Linked DNA regions of Homo sapiens: region 2 is linked to region 1. Evidence: promoter capture Hi-C in 16 types of primary human blood cells and fetal thymus (Javierre and others, 2016). All regions are on one chromosome and are shown on one strand. Each heading gives the region's core, a stretch centred on a gene start or on the middle of the fragment in contact. The rest is flanking DNA. Distances are from core to core; before and after follow the strand shown. Region 1 holds the start of APBA1 (amyloid beta precursor protein binding family A member 1). Region 2 has its middle 110 kb from the start of CFAP95.

Region 1 (6,086 bases), core at 2,685-5,184:
GGGTGGATCACTTGAAGTCAGGAGTTTGAGACCAGCCTGGCCAAAATGGTGAAACCCTGTCTCTACTAAAAATACAAAAATTAGCCGGGCATGGTGGTGGGCGCCTATAGTCCCAGCTACTAGGGAGGCTGAGGCAGGAGAATCGCTTGAACCCGGGAGGCAGAGGTTGCAGTGACCCAAGACTGCACCACTGTACTCCAGCCTGGGCAACAGAGTGAGGCACTGACAAAAAAAAAAATTAATACCCTGATAAGCCCAAAAGTAAGGTCAAAAACTTCTAAGTCGAACCATCATAAGACAGGAACCGTCTGTATTGGTATAGTGTAGGCTGATGGAGTTTGGGACCTCAGAGATTAAACTAAAGGAGATTATCTATGAGCCATTGGGAGACATACTTAAGTTTGCCAATAATATGAGGTTTTATACTGGCATGCACGGAGACTTTAGGTGCACATGCAGTGGTGGTTAAGGCTTTACTTTAAACCCAAGTCACTTGGCACAGTGTCTATACTATTGTTACCTGCTTCAATGGTTGGCAGGTTGCCAGTGTTTTATTTTTAGTGACATGGTCTTGCTCTATCACCCAGGCAGAAATGCTATGGCACAATTATAGCTTACTGCAGCCTCAACCTCCTGGATTAAAGCAATCCTCCCATCTCAGCCTCCCAAGTAGCTAGGACTGCAGGAATTCGCCACCATGCCCACTAATTTTTTTTTTTTTTTGAGAGACGGGGGTCTTACTATGTTGCCCAAGCTGGTCTTGAACTCCCCAGCAATCCTCCCACGTTGGCCTCCCAAAGTGCTGGGATTACAGGCATGAGCCACCATGCCTGGCTGCCAGTATTTTATATACTGCTTCCTGAAACACTTGAATAGCAGTTTCGACCCTGTTAACAGGAGAAGGTGGATTGGAGTGGTGGATTGGAGTGCCTTATAAGAGATCTACTAAAAAGAAAAACATCAATAAAGCAGGCACAGGAAATCTATAAATAGAATAGAACAAGACCAAAGGAGGGATTAAGACATGGATCTACATGCCATATGGATCCACTCATTTCCTACAATGATCTGAAAATTTGGCTTTGAGTTTCCTGCCAGCGAAGGCACAGAGTAACAAGAGCACTTAAGACAATGATTCATGCTATCCAGAAGAAATAGGAATATGTGTTTTTCATGGGGGTGGGGGAGGGAGGGAAATTTCCACATATGAACATTTGGTAAGTAATTAGTTTTGGAGGTCTCTAAGCTACCATTATAACTAACAATTATTACCTTTCTTTATATGGCACTGAATACTTTGCAGAGAAATTTCACATAACTTTCTTTACACAAAAATCCTGCGAGGTAAGATTCCAGGATATTATTAAAGCAATAATGTAACCCTTATTCATGCATCTAAGAACCTAGTCTAACTGGAAAGGCAACACAAAAAGTAGAAAATAAGCAGAAAGATCTCTGAGATAGCAAACCAAATGGCAATAAGTGTATGCACAGAAAAGAGCCTCTCACTCAGAACCTATATTCTCTTATTTAACCTGAAATTCTAACAGGGTTCATTTCCTTCCTAAAACTGCAGTGGATTAAAAGTAACAAAACAGAAACTATTACAGAGAAGCACTCTGAAAGCCTCCTAGATGCGTACACAGGAGAGCAGAGGCAAGAACTAAAAACAATCAAAAGAGCAGTTAGTGCAAAAACAGAAAACCCTAAACACTCACTAAGTAGGATAAGCTCAGACTCTCTCCGCCCTGGATCCTGACCCTCCACGAATCAGTTCCTCACAAACCACCTCAGCCATCTTTCAGGAACGGAAATGTGATCCTGCTTGCCTGCTCCCAACTCTTGGCAACCCTTCATTGACTTTCCAGGCTCATAAGACAAAATCATTATTTAAAAACGGTCCACAAAGTCTGCCTGCCTCTCCAGTCTCATCTCACTTCGGCCCCACCTGCTTGGGCCTTTTCACATTTCCTTCCCTTTACCTGGAAGTGTCTCAATGCTGCCTCTCCTGGGGGATCTGAAATGTCATTTCCTTAGAAAGCCTTACCTAGTCCCAGAGTCCACATTAGGTTTTCCCGTGCACCTTAGCGCCTTTGCAGTTGAGAATTTATCACAGTTGCACTTAGTCTGATTGTTTTATTTGTTTGTTTGTTTTTTGAGACACCAAGGCTGGAGTGCAGTAGCGCGATCTCGGCTCACTGCAACCTCCGCCTCCCGGTTCAAGCATTCTCGTGCCTCAGCTTCCCGAGTAGCTAGGATTACAGGCGTGCACCAACACGCCCGGCTAATTTTTGTGTTTTTAGTAGAGACAGGGTTTCGCCATGTTGACCAGGCTGATCTCAAACTTTTGGCCTAAAGTGATCTGCTGGACTCAGCCTCCCAAAGTGCTGGGATTACAGGCGTGAGCCACCGCGCCTGGCCAGTCTGATAGTTGAATACCTATTTCCTTCAGCGTACTGTGAGCTCTGGTGGAAAAGGACCATGTCTGGCTCGTACATATGCCAAATAAGTATTCACCGGAAAAAATATGAGTAATGTCACAGGACAAGCAGACATCTTCCTAGTATATAATTTTAAATTTTACTAAAATCTTTTTGAGAAGGTAGCTATTGTTTTATTAAAGCAAAAAAAAATTACAAAGTACAATGCAAAATTCATATGAATTTTAAAGCTAAAACAAGACTTTCAGAATGCTTTAGGCTACACCCCCAGACTTCTCTAGAGACGTGCTTAAAATAATATGGAAACACGGTGTGGTAAAAGATCCATTTCCCAAGGGATCTGGATAACCAGCGCTTATCTTCATTTTACTGGAGAATACATGTGCGGAGAGGGCTTTGCAAACTACAAGGCTTTGTGCATTATAACATTATTATGGAAAAATCTGTGTTTCTAAGAGGGGGAATGATTTAGCTATTGCATTGCCAATTACAGGTGGGGCTGGCGCCAGAGCCCAGGCCTCCCGGGGCCTGTCTAGCCCACAGCTTTTCATTAATGCACAGCACTTGCCACCTGGTCCCTGCCGCAAAGGGTGGCCTCTCGAGTTAGGAGCCATATCTAGGGCGGATGGCCTGTGCTAGGCTCAAAGACACTTAAGTTCCGATCAACCAGAACTGAGGAGCGGGTAGGAAAACCAAGCCGAGCCTTCCTCGGCTTCACAATCCGCAGGCTCTCCGCTGTCCCCGGCGGGACTCGGCAGTTCCCCTGGAGGGCTGCAGCCCGGCTGTCTTCGCTCAGGCCCAAGCCCGCGCGGCTCTCCCCCTGGCGGAGAACTCGCAGGACTGCGACGCATTCCGGAGACGCCGTCAATCTCCGAATTTGAAGCGCAGGCGATATCTAAGGGGCCTGGGAAGCGGGAAAGCTCGGGAGTCACTCCGGAGAGAACACCCTGCAGGAGTCGACGCGGCTGCCTGGCTTCGTGGTCCTGCAGCGTGGCCCGTTGCTTCGCGCAGAGGTTGGCCACAGCTGCTGGCTAGGAAACTGGGGACCACCTGGGTTGCCACCGAGGAGGGTGGAGGCCCCCGTCAGTCCCCTCGGGGATGCAGCTGCATTTTCCCCTCCTTGCGTCCGGCCGGGAGCCAGAGGATGGGGCTGTGGAACCCATTCCGAAAGGCAGGGCGGGCCCTTCGGAACCCGGACGCGAGGGAAGGCGAGAGGCGCGGGTGTGCCGCACGCCCACCGGCGCCGGGGCAGGGGCGCTGCAGCCGGCGGCCCACGGAGGACATCAGCGGTGCCGCCGCCGCCGCCGCGGGCTCGCGGGCCGCGCGCGCACGCGAGTGGGCGAGGGAGGCAGGGGCGCTACTAGCAGGCGGCGTGCGCGCGCGCGCTCCCCCGCGCCCTCCCTCGCAGGCCCGCCCGGCCCCAGCGCGCGTCACGAGGGGCCAGCGAGCTAGCTGGAGGGCGGGAGGGAGGGTGGGGAAAGGGGGTGGGGCCGCGAGACCGGAGGGGTCCGAGCAGCGGCTGCGGAGCCGGAGCTGGGCGAGGGCGGCTGCGGTCCCGGCGGCGGCGGCGGCGGCGGCAGCTGCGGCGGGAGAAGATGGTGGCGCTGGAGGCAGCAGCGGCTGGAGCGGAGCTTTATTCCCAGGCTTGGCACCAGCGCTGTCACTAGCGCCGCCTGCTCCCGCGGGCCCGCGGACCCAGCTGTCAGGCAAGGTACCACAGCCAGGGAGGGGTGGGTGAGAAGGGGTGCCCGGCGCTGATGCGGCCCCCGACGGAGCCCGGGTCCTCGCCAAAGGGCGCCCCCGGACGCGAGAGGGGCTGCCTGGAACAATAGTGCGGAGGAGCGGAGGCAGCAGGCGACATCCAGGAGGCAGTGCCTGGAACCATCAGCTAGCGAGGCGGGGGAAGGCGGCGTTGCGAGCGAGACGCCTGGGGTCCGGTGCCCGCTGAGATGCCGGGCTTCGGGCGCAGCAGGCGGGCCTGATGACAGTCATGGCAGGAGTGAGTGTGTGAGAGTGTGTGTGTAAAAGGTACAGCAGAGGGGATGGGGTGGCGGACGGAGGTGTTGGGGGGTGACATTTCCAGGAATCCCCGCTAGGACCCCCTCATCTCTCGGCTGACTCTCCTGGAGAAAGAATGTGATGATGGAAACGGTGAGGTGGGCAGGATGCACTTGGTGTGTGAAGTGTGGAGGGAGGCAGTGGGATAGGGGCCGGTTTGTAAAATCCTGTATATGTGTGTGTACGCGTGTGGTTGCATCCACGTTCCCCAAACTGCGCCCCAAATCCAGAGATCTGCCGCTGCCCTTACTTGATGTCACCGGCTAAGACTGTGGGACAGTGTTTGTTATTTTGACCCTGCAACTCTGAGCACAGTGTCTGTTCTGCTCCTGCGTGTGGATGGCCCAGTGTAGGGATTCTCGCTTCCCCTTCCTCTGGCCTCATGACATGGGGATGTGGAAGTGAGCATGTTGCTTTGAGGCACATGGCAGGGAAATAGGATAACCGTTACACATTCTGGGCTTGCTAATGTACCTGGTTTTGAAGGGGCCTTCCATCCTGTGATACTACTTCTCTCCTTAGCACCTGTTCCATAAGGGTCTTGTACTCCCTGACTGTGCAGTTTCTATTGTTTTTCTCTTGTCTGACCAGAAGGAGAAGGATGTTGAATGATCAGATTCCTCTTCCTGTCCCCACAACTTTCAATGCTAGCTAGACCTTCTCCTTCCACATTTAAGCACTGAAAACCTTATGGCTAGAGGATGGATGGTCTTTGTGTTGGTTCTTTTAGAATGAACTCTGGAGGTGTATACGTATAGAGAGATGCGGTGGGGCGGGGGGCGGTCTTTTAAAAAGAAGAAAAATATCACACGGAGAAATGTTTGGTGCCCACTTGGTCAGCATCACACAGCCAGGGCGTTTTCCTCAGGAAACAGGATACTTTATTTCTACTGCTGGTGACATCCACTCTCCCAGCTGTCACAATAGCTAGGTGGTGCCGTGTATCATTTGGAAACTGAAATCTCCTGAGACCCACAGCGATGGGGTCCCAGGTCAGTAAAGTCCCTGCTTTCCTACCTGATAGAGCCCACTAGTAGGGAATTTGGAAAAATGTCAGGCTGGCAACAACTCACCCAGTGGGAACAAGGACACAGAAATGCATCCAGAGTCTATGGCTGTTTAATTGTCTCTGCGTGGTAAAGATAGGTGTGTGTAGGTAGGGTTGGGTAGAGGTAGGCAGGGAGATGGCATATTCATGTGTATCCAGGGCAGTGTGATTCCCCCTCACCTATGTTTCTCCTGCGGTATTCATAGGAATGAGTGCACTTTACACTTAATATCTCGACACTTCTTTATTAAAATGTTGTATGACTAGCTTAATCTGCTTAGGACATGTTTTAGTCATAACACCTTAAATTCTACTGCATTGTCGGAATCCAAACTGGCTGCCCGGTTCTCTTCGAAAAGCCCGTAGCAGTCATGGCTACACAAGTAAATATACAACATGTTGGCACCAGAGATTTATTTTTCTTTTTTAAAATTTTTGTTTTGCTTTCTTTTATGGGCAAAGATTGCATGATATCGTTGTGAAAATAATAAAACTAGGGCTATCCACATATGCTTTTTTTTCTTCCCATGTATCTTATT
Region 2 (6,220 bases), core at 2,242-4,741, 260 kb before region 1:
AAAGCTCTCTAGAGCACTTGATTGTTGTTTCATAACAGGAAAAAGATGAGGGGCCTATGAAATTTCTAGACAGACTAAAGGACCAAATGAGACAATATGCAGGCCTAAATTTAGAAGATCCCCTTGGACAGGGAATGTTAAAGCTCCATTTTGTCACTAAAAGTTAGCCAGATATTTCGTTACAAAAATTAGAAAATTGGGAAAACCAACCTCTGAGTGAACTCCTTAGGGAAGCTCCAAAAGTGTACGTAAAGAGAGACAAAGAAAAGCAAAAACAAAAGGCAAAACTCATGTTATACACTTTCCAGCAGGTGGCTCCAAACCCACACATTTCTAAATATAGCTTCCAGGGGGCCAGAAACTATAAAGGGTCCAGATCTCTGTTTAAAGGACACAAGCCTCCATCTAGAGGACCCCGCCCCTCATCTACCAGACCATCTAAAAAATATGGGGGAGCAAAGCTAAAGAATCCCAGGATTGAGACAGTGGAGAGACAGGATAGGTACTACAAATGTGGAACAGCAGGCCACTTCAAGAGAGAATGTCCTGAATTGCAAAGGCAGAAAGAAGCCCTACCACTCATGACTTTTGAGGAAGAATAGGGGAGTCAGGGGCTCTGTCTCTTTTGCTTCGAATCCCACCAGGAGCCCTTGATAAATTTAGAGGTGGGACCCAAACAGGAGCCTATCACCTTTTTAGTCAATTTAGGAGTGGCTCACTTCTCCATTTGTTTCCCTCCACCTAACATTGCCTGCTCTTCAGAAGAACTTTTAGTCTCTGGGATAAAAGGAGAAGGATTTAAGGCAAAAATCTTAGAAAGTACAGAAGTTAAATACCAAGATTGATTGACTCATATCCAATTTTTATTGATCCCTGAGGCAGGAACTAATCTATTGGGAAGAGACTTAATGCTAAAATTAGGCATAGGCCTACAAGTTCACCCTAAAGGATTTCTTGCCTCATTAAACCTACTCACCACTGCAGATGAAAAATACAGTAATCCCAATGTCTGGTCAAGGGAGGGAAACCTAGGGAAACTCCAAATCCCTCCAAGCCACATCAAGCTAAAAACCCACTGGGGAAGTAGTGAGGAGGAAAAAAATACCCCATTCCCCTAGAGGGCAGAATAGGGTTAAAGCCTATAATTGAAAGTCTTATTAAAGATGGACTCCCTTGTACCCTGTATGTCCCCTTATAACACTCCAGTATTGCCAGTCAAGAAAGCAGATGGGACATACTGACTGGTGCAAGATCTTAAAGCCATCAGTCAAATAGTCCAGACTACCCATCCTGTTGTCCCCAACCCATACACCATTCTCAGCAAAATTCCATATAATCATCAGTGGTTTACAGTAATAGACTTAAAGGATGCCTTCTGGGCATGCCCCTTGGCTAAAGACAGCTGAGACACATTTGCTTTTGAGTGGGAGGACCCCCATTCAGGGCAAAAACAACAGTATCAATGGAGTTCAAGGGTTCACAGACTCCCTAAACCTTTTTGGCCAAATCTAGAACAAGTGTCAGAAAAAGTTGTCATCCCAAAGTAGATATGCCTGGTCCAGTATGTGGGTGATATTCTTATATCTGGTGAAGATGTAAAAAAAGTAGCTGACTTCTCTACACATATTCTTAACCATCTGGAATTTGAGGGGCTATGGGTCTCAAAGGGAAAGCTTCAGTATGTGGAGACTGAAGTTAAATATTTAGGCCACTTTTATCAGTGGAGGTAAGTGAAGAATAGGGCCTGAGTGAGTTGAAGGCATCGTGTCCTTATCCCTGCCTCAAACTAAGCAAGGACTCAGAACATTTTTAGGATTAGTTGGATACTGCTGCTTATGGATTGACTCATATGCCCTAAAAAGTAAACTTTTATATGAAAAGCTTACCTAGTGGAAGCTGGACCATCTCCTGTGGACTTCTGAGGAAGCCGATCAGGTTTTTTAGCCTTACCTTCCCTAGAAAAGCCATTTCATCTTTTTGTTAACATAAATAACAGGGTAGCTTTAGGGGTGCTCACTCAAGAACCCAGTGGCCGCTGGCAGCCCATAGCCTTCCTATCAAAAGTTTTACACCCAATACCTGTAGATGGCCTCAATGTTTTCAATCTGTTGCAGCTACAGAAGTATTAGTTGAAGAAACCAGAAAATTAACCTTTGGGGGAAAATTAACTGTAAGCACACCCCACCAAGTTAGAGCTACTTTAAATAAAAAAGCAGGAAGGTGCTCACTGACTCCAGAATCTTGAAATACTGAAATTGAATCTTGAAAAATTAAAATATGAGGCTATTCTACTAGAAAAAAGATGAATTTAACCTTAACTACTGATAATTCACTCAACCCAGCAGGTTTCTTGACAGGAGACCCAAATCTAAAAAGAGAACACCTATGTTTAGATTTAATTGACTACCAAATGAAGGTCAGGCCAGATCTAGGAGAGACCCCTTTCAAAATGGGGCGATGCTTATTTATAGATGGTTCCTCCCAAGTAATTAAAGGAGAAAGGCATAATGGGTATTCAGTAATTGATAGAGAAACTCTTGAAGAAATAGAGTCAGGAAGGTTGCCCAATAGTTGATCTGCCCAAGTTTGTGAACCATTTGCCCTCAGCCAGGCTTTAAAACACTTACAGAACAAGGAAGAAACTATTTATACTGATTCTAAGTATGCCTTTGGAGTAGCACATACATTTGGAAAAATTTGGCCTGAGAAACCTCTTATTAATTTTAAAGGCCAAAATCTTGCCCATGAAGAGCTAATCATCCATGTTTTAAACAATCTCCAGTTGCCAGAAGAAATAGCCATTGTACATGTCCCCAGACACTAAAAAGACTTTTCCTTTACAAGTTGGGGAAATAACCTTGCAAATCAAGCAGCTAAGCAGGCTGCTGTTTCATCTGAAACACCTATCTTTCACTTAACTCCTTGTCTTCCTCCCCCTGCTGCAACCTCTATCTTCTCTGCTGCAGAAAAGGAAAAATTAATAAGAATAGGAGCCAAAGAAAACTCAGAAGGAAAATGGGTGTTACCAGATCAATGAGAAATACTATCCAAACTCGTCATGAAGGAAATCCTGTCCCATCTGCATCAAGGGACCCACTGGGGACCCCAAGCTATGTGTGATGCAGTTCTCAGGGTTTATGGGTGTTCAGGAACTTATACTGTAGCCAAACAGATTAAAGATAGTTGCTTCATATGTAAAAAAAAAAAACCCAACAAACAAGTTACAAAGAAATCGCCCCTTGCGGGGAGGGATCCAGGGCTAAGACCATTCCAAAGTGTTCAAATTGACTACACTGAAATGCCCCCAATCGGTCGCCTAAAGTACTTATTAGTAACAGCAGATCACCTTACTCATTGAGTTGAAGCTATTCCCTTTTCAAATGCAATGGCCAATAATGTAGTTAAAGCATTAACTGAAAAGATAGTGCCCAGGTTTGGACCAATAGAAAATATTGATTCAGACAATGGAACCCATTTCATAGCACATATCATTAAAAAGCTATCCCAAGCCCTAGACATTAGATGGGAATATCATACTCCTTGGCACCCACCTTCCTCAAGAAGAATAGAAAGGATGAATTAGACCTTAAAGAACCACATAACCAAATTAGTTCTAGAGACTCAGTTGCCATGGACCAAATGTCTTCTTATTGCCTTTTAAGAATCTGAGCTGCTCCTTGGAAAGATATTGGCCTTTCTCCTTATGAGATGCTCTAATTGCCTTATTTACACTCCACTGCTGGCATTCCTACATTTGAAACAAAAGATCAATTCCTCAGGAATTATATACTTGGTCTCTCCTCTACTTTCTCTTTTTTTAAAAACCAAAGGTCTCCTAGCACAGGCGCCGCCCCTGGAGTTCCCAGTACATCAACATCAGCCTGGGGATCATGTCCTCATCAAAAGCTAGAAAGAAGAAAAACTTGAGCTGTCCTGGGAAGGACTTCACCTAAGTGCTTCTAACCACTGGAACCACAGTCCTGATAGCAGAAAAAGGATGGACCCATCACACCTGAGTCAAGAAAGCACCACCACCTCCGCAGTCATGGGCCATTGTCCCAGGGGAAAACCCCCTCAAACTAAAGCTAAGTTTAACTCTCTTTCATCTATTCTATTACTCTTTCTTCTTTTCTCATTCTATTGCTGACCACCTTGTTATCAATGTAACTAAATCAAACTCCCCCAAAGTTATTACGTTTGATGCTTGTTTAGTCATACCCTGTAGAGATCTTCAAAGTCAAAGGAAACTCTTAGCCTTAGAAAAGTATCTCTGCCCCTTTAAAATAGAGGTTCCCCCTACCAAGACTCTTGCTCTTTAACAAATATAGAGAAACAGGTCTGCCATAGCAGGAATGATGTTCTGTGGACAACCAAATATCAAGGCTAGACCTCATTGACAGGTGGTTGTGTATCCTTAAAACCATACATTCACTTTACTAAAGAAAGCACCTCCAACCCCAATTGCCAGTATAACCAATGTAATCCAGTGCAAATTTCAATTCTCACTTCCACCTCTACCGACCCTAGACCTACTTTGAGCCGCTTCTACAGCATGGGAGCCAACTTGGCTGGCACAGACCTCATAGGGACTTTTGAAATGCATTTTATTAATCCCTCATCCTCTTCACCCCCTTTCCTCTCTTCTCCTTCTAAGCCTTCTTCTAATCAAACTGCTATCCCCTCTATACCCAATGATAAGACTAAGGTAGATATTGTAGAAGTAAATGATTTAAGGCAAACTTTAGCAATTGAAACAGGATATCAAGATGCAAATTCCTGGTTGGAATGGATCAAATATTCTGTCCACATGTTAAACAAAAGCAATTGTTATGCTTGTGTGCACGGCCAGCCAGAGGCCCAGATTGTCCTCTTTCCACTTGGATGGTCCGCTAGTCAACCAGGCATGGGCTGCATGATAGCTCTCTTCCAGGATTCTACAGCTTGGGACAATAAATAATGCCAAGCTCTCTTTCTGCTCTATCCTGAAATCCAACACCCTGCGGGTCAGCCCCCGAAGGCCATCCAGCTTCCATCTCCCAACGTCAATTTCACCTTGTGTCTCTCACAACAAGGGGAAAACTTGGCATTCCTTGGAAGCTTAACAGGATGCAGTGAGCTTAAGCCCTTCTAGAAGCTTACCCATCAGTCTGCCCTTAGCCATCCTCGAGCAGATGTGTGGTGGTATTGTGGCAGACCCTTACTGGACACTCTGTCAAGTAACTGGAGTGGTACTTATGCTCTTGTCTAATTGGCTATCCCTTTCACCCTGGCATTTCATCAACCAGAAAAAGAAAAAATGCAACACCATAAAATAAGAGAAGCCCCTTATGGGTCTTTTGACTCTCAAGTTTATTTAGATGCAATTAGAGTCCCACGGGGAGTACCTGATAAATTCAAAGCCCAGACCAAATAGCTGCAGGATTTGAATCAGTATTTCCATGAGTAACTATTAATAAAAATGTAAATTGGATAAATTACATCTATTATAAACAGCAATGATTTATTAATTACACTAGAGATGCCATCAAAGTAATAGCTGACCAGTTAGGGCCTACTAGCCAGATGGTTTGGGAAAACAGAATGGCCCTAGACATGATGTTAGCTGAAAAAGGTGGAGTTTGCATTATAATTAAAACTCAATGTTGTACCTTCATCCCAAACAATACTGCCCCCAATGGGAACATAACAAGGCCTTACAGAGACTTACCTCTTTATCCAATGAATTAGCTAAAAATTCTAGAGTTGATAACCCTTTCTAAGCATGGCTAGCTAGAAAGGTGATTTGGTAAATGGAAAGGAATCACAGCCTCAGTGCTTACTTCTCTTGCAGCCATAATAGGTGTACTCATTCTTGTTGGGTGTTGTGTCATACCATGCATCCATGGGCTAGTACAAAGGCTTATAGAAACAGTACTTACTAAAGCCTCCCTTAGCTCTCCTCCACCTTATTCAGATAAGTTGTTCCTTTTAGAGGATGAAGTCGAACAGCAAAGCCAAGACATCTTAAAAAGGTCTGAAGAGGAAGGACTATAAAAATTAAGAGGGGGGAAATTGTAGGATACAATAAATTTATTCCTCTTCACATGTTTAGCTTGTTAACTTCCTTGTTCTTTGTTCTCAAACTCAACTTTCTTGTTCTCCATGCCTCCTTGTCCCTAGTTACTGTAAACAACCTTCCCGTCAGTTCTAATCAATAACTTCACATCTGTTCCCTTGGCTA

What was found. The method cuts DNA at HindIII sites, captures the fragments that hold promoters and counts their contacts. A CHiCAGO score of 5 or more calls a contact.
Region 2: a contact is called between a fragment that was not itself captured here and the fragment with the promoter of APBA1 in region 1, in 1 of 17 cell types (endothelial precursors). The highest score is 6.9, in endothelial precursors.

The regions. Positions count from the first base shown.
Region 1 is chr9:69,670,219-69,676,304 of GRCh38, reverse strand. APBA1 (amyloid beta precursor protein binding family A member 1) reads left to right here and starts at 3,934. Exons shown (of 13, transcript NM_001163.4): 1 at 3,934-4,152. RefSeq lists silencers at 3,857-3,906, 4,087-4,166. The HindIII fragment of the contact is 15,920 bases long and covers 1-6,086 here.
Region 2 is chr9:69,925,642-69,931,861 of GRCh38, reverse strand. No RefSeq gene overlaps it. Among named protein-coding and RNA genes, the nearest start is that of CFAP95, 110 kb to the right of the region's middle. The HindIII fragment of the contact is 3,216 bases long and covers 1,884-5,099 here.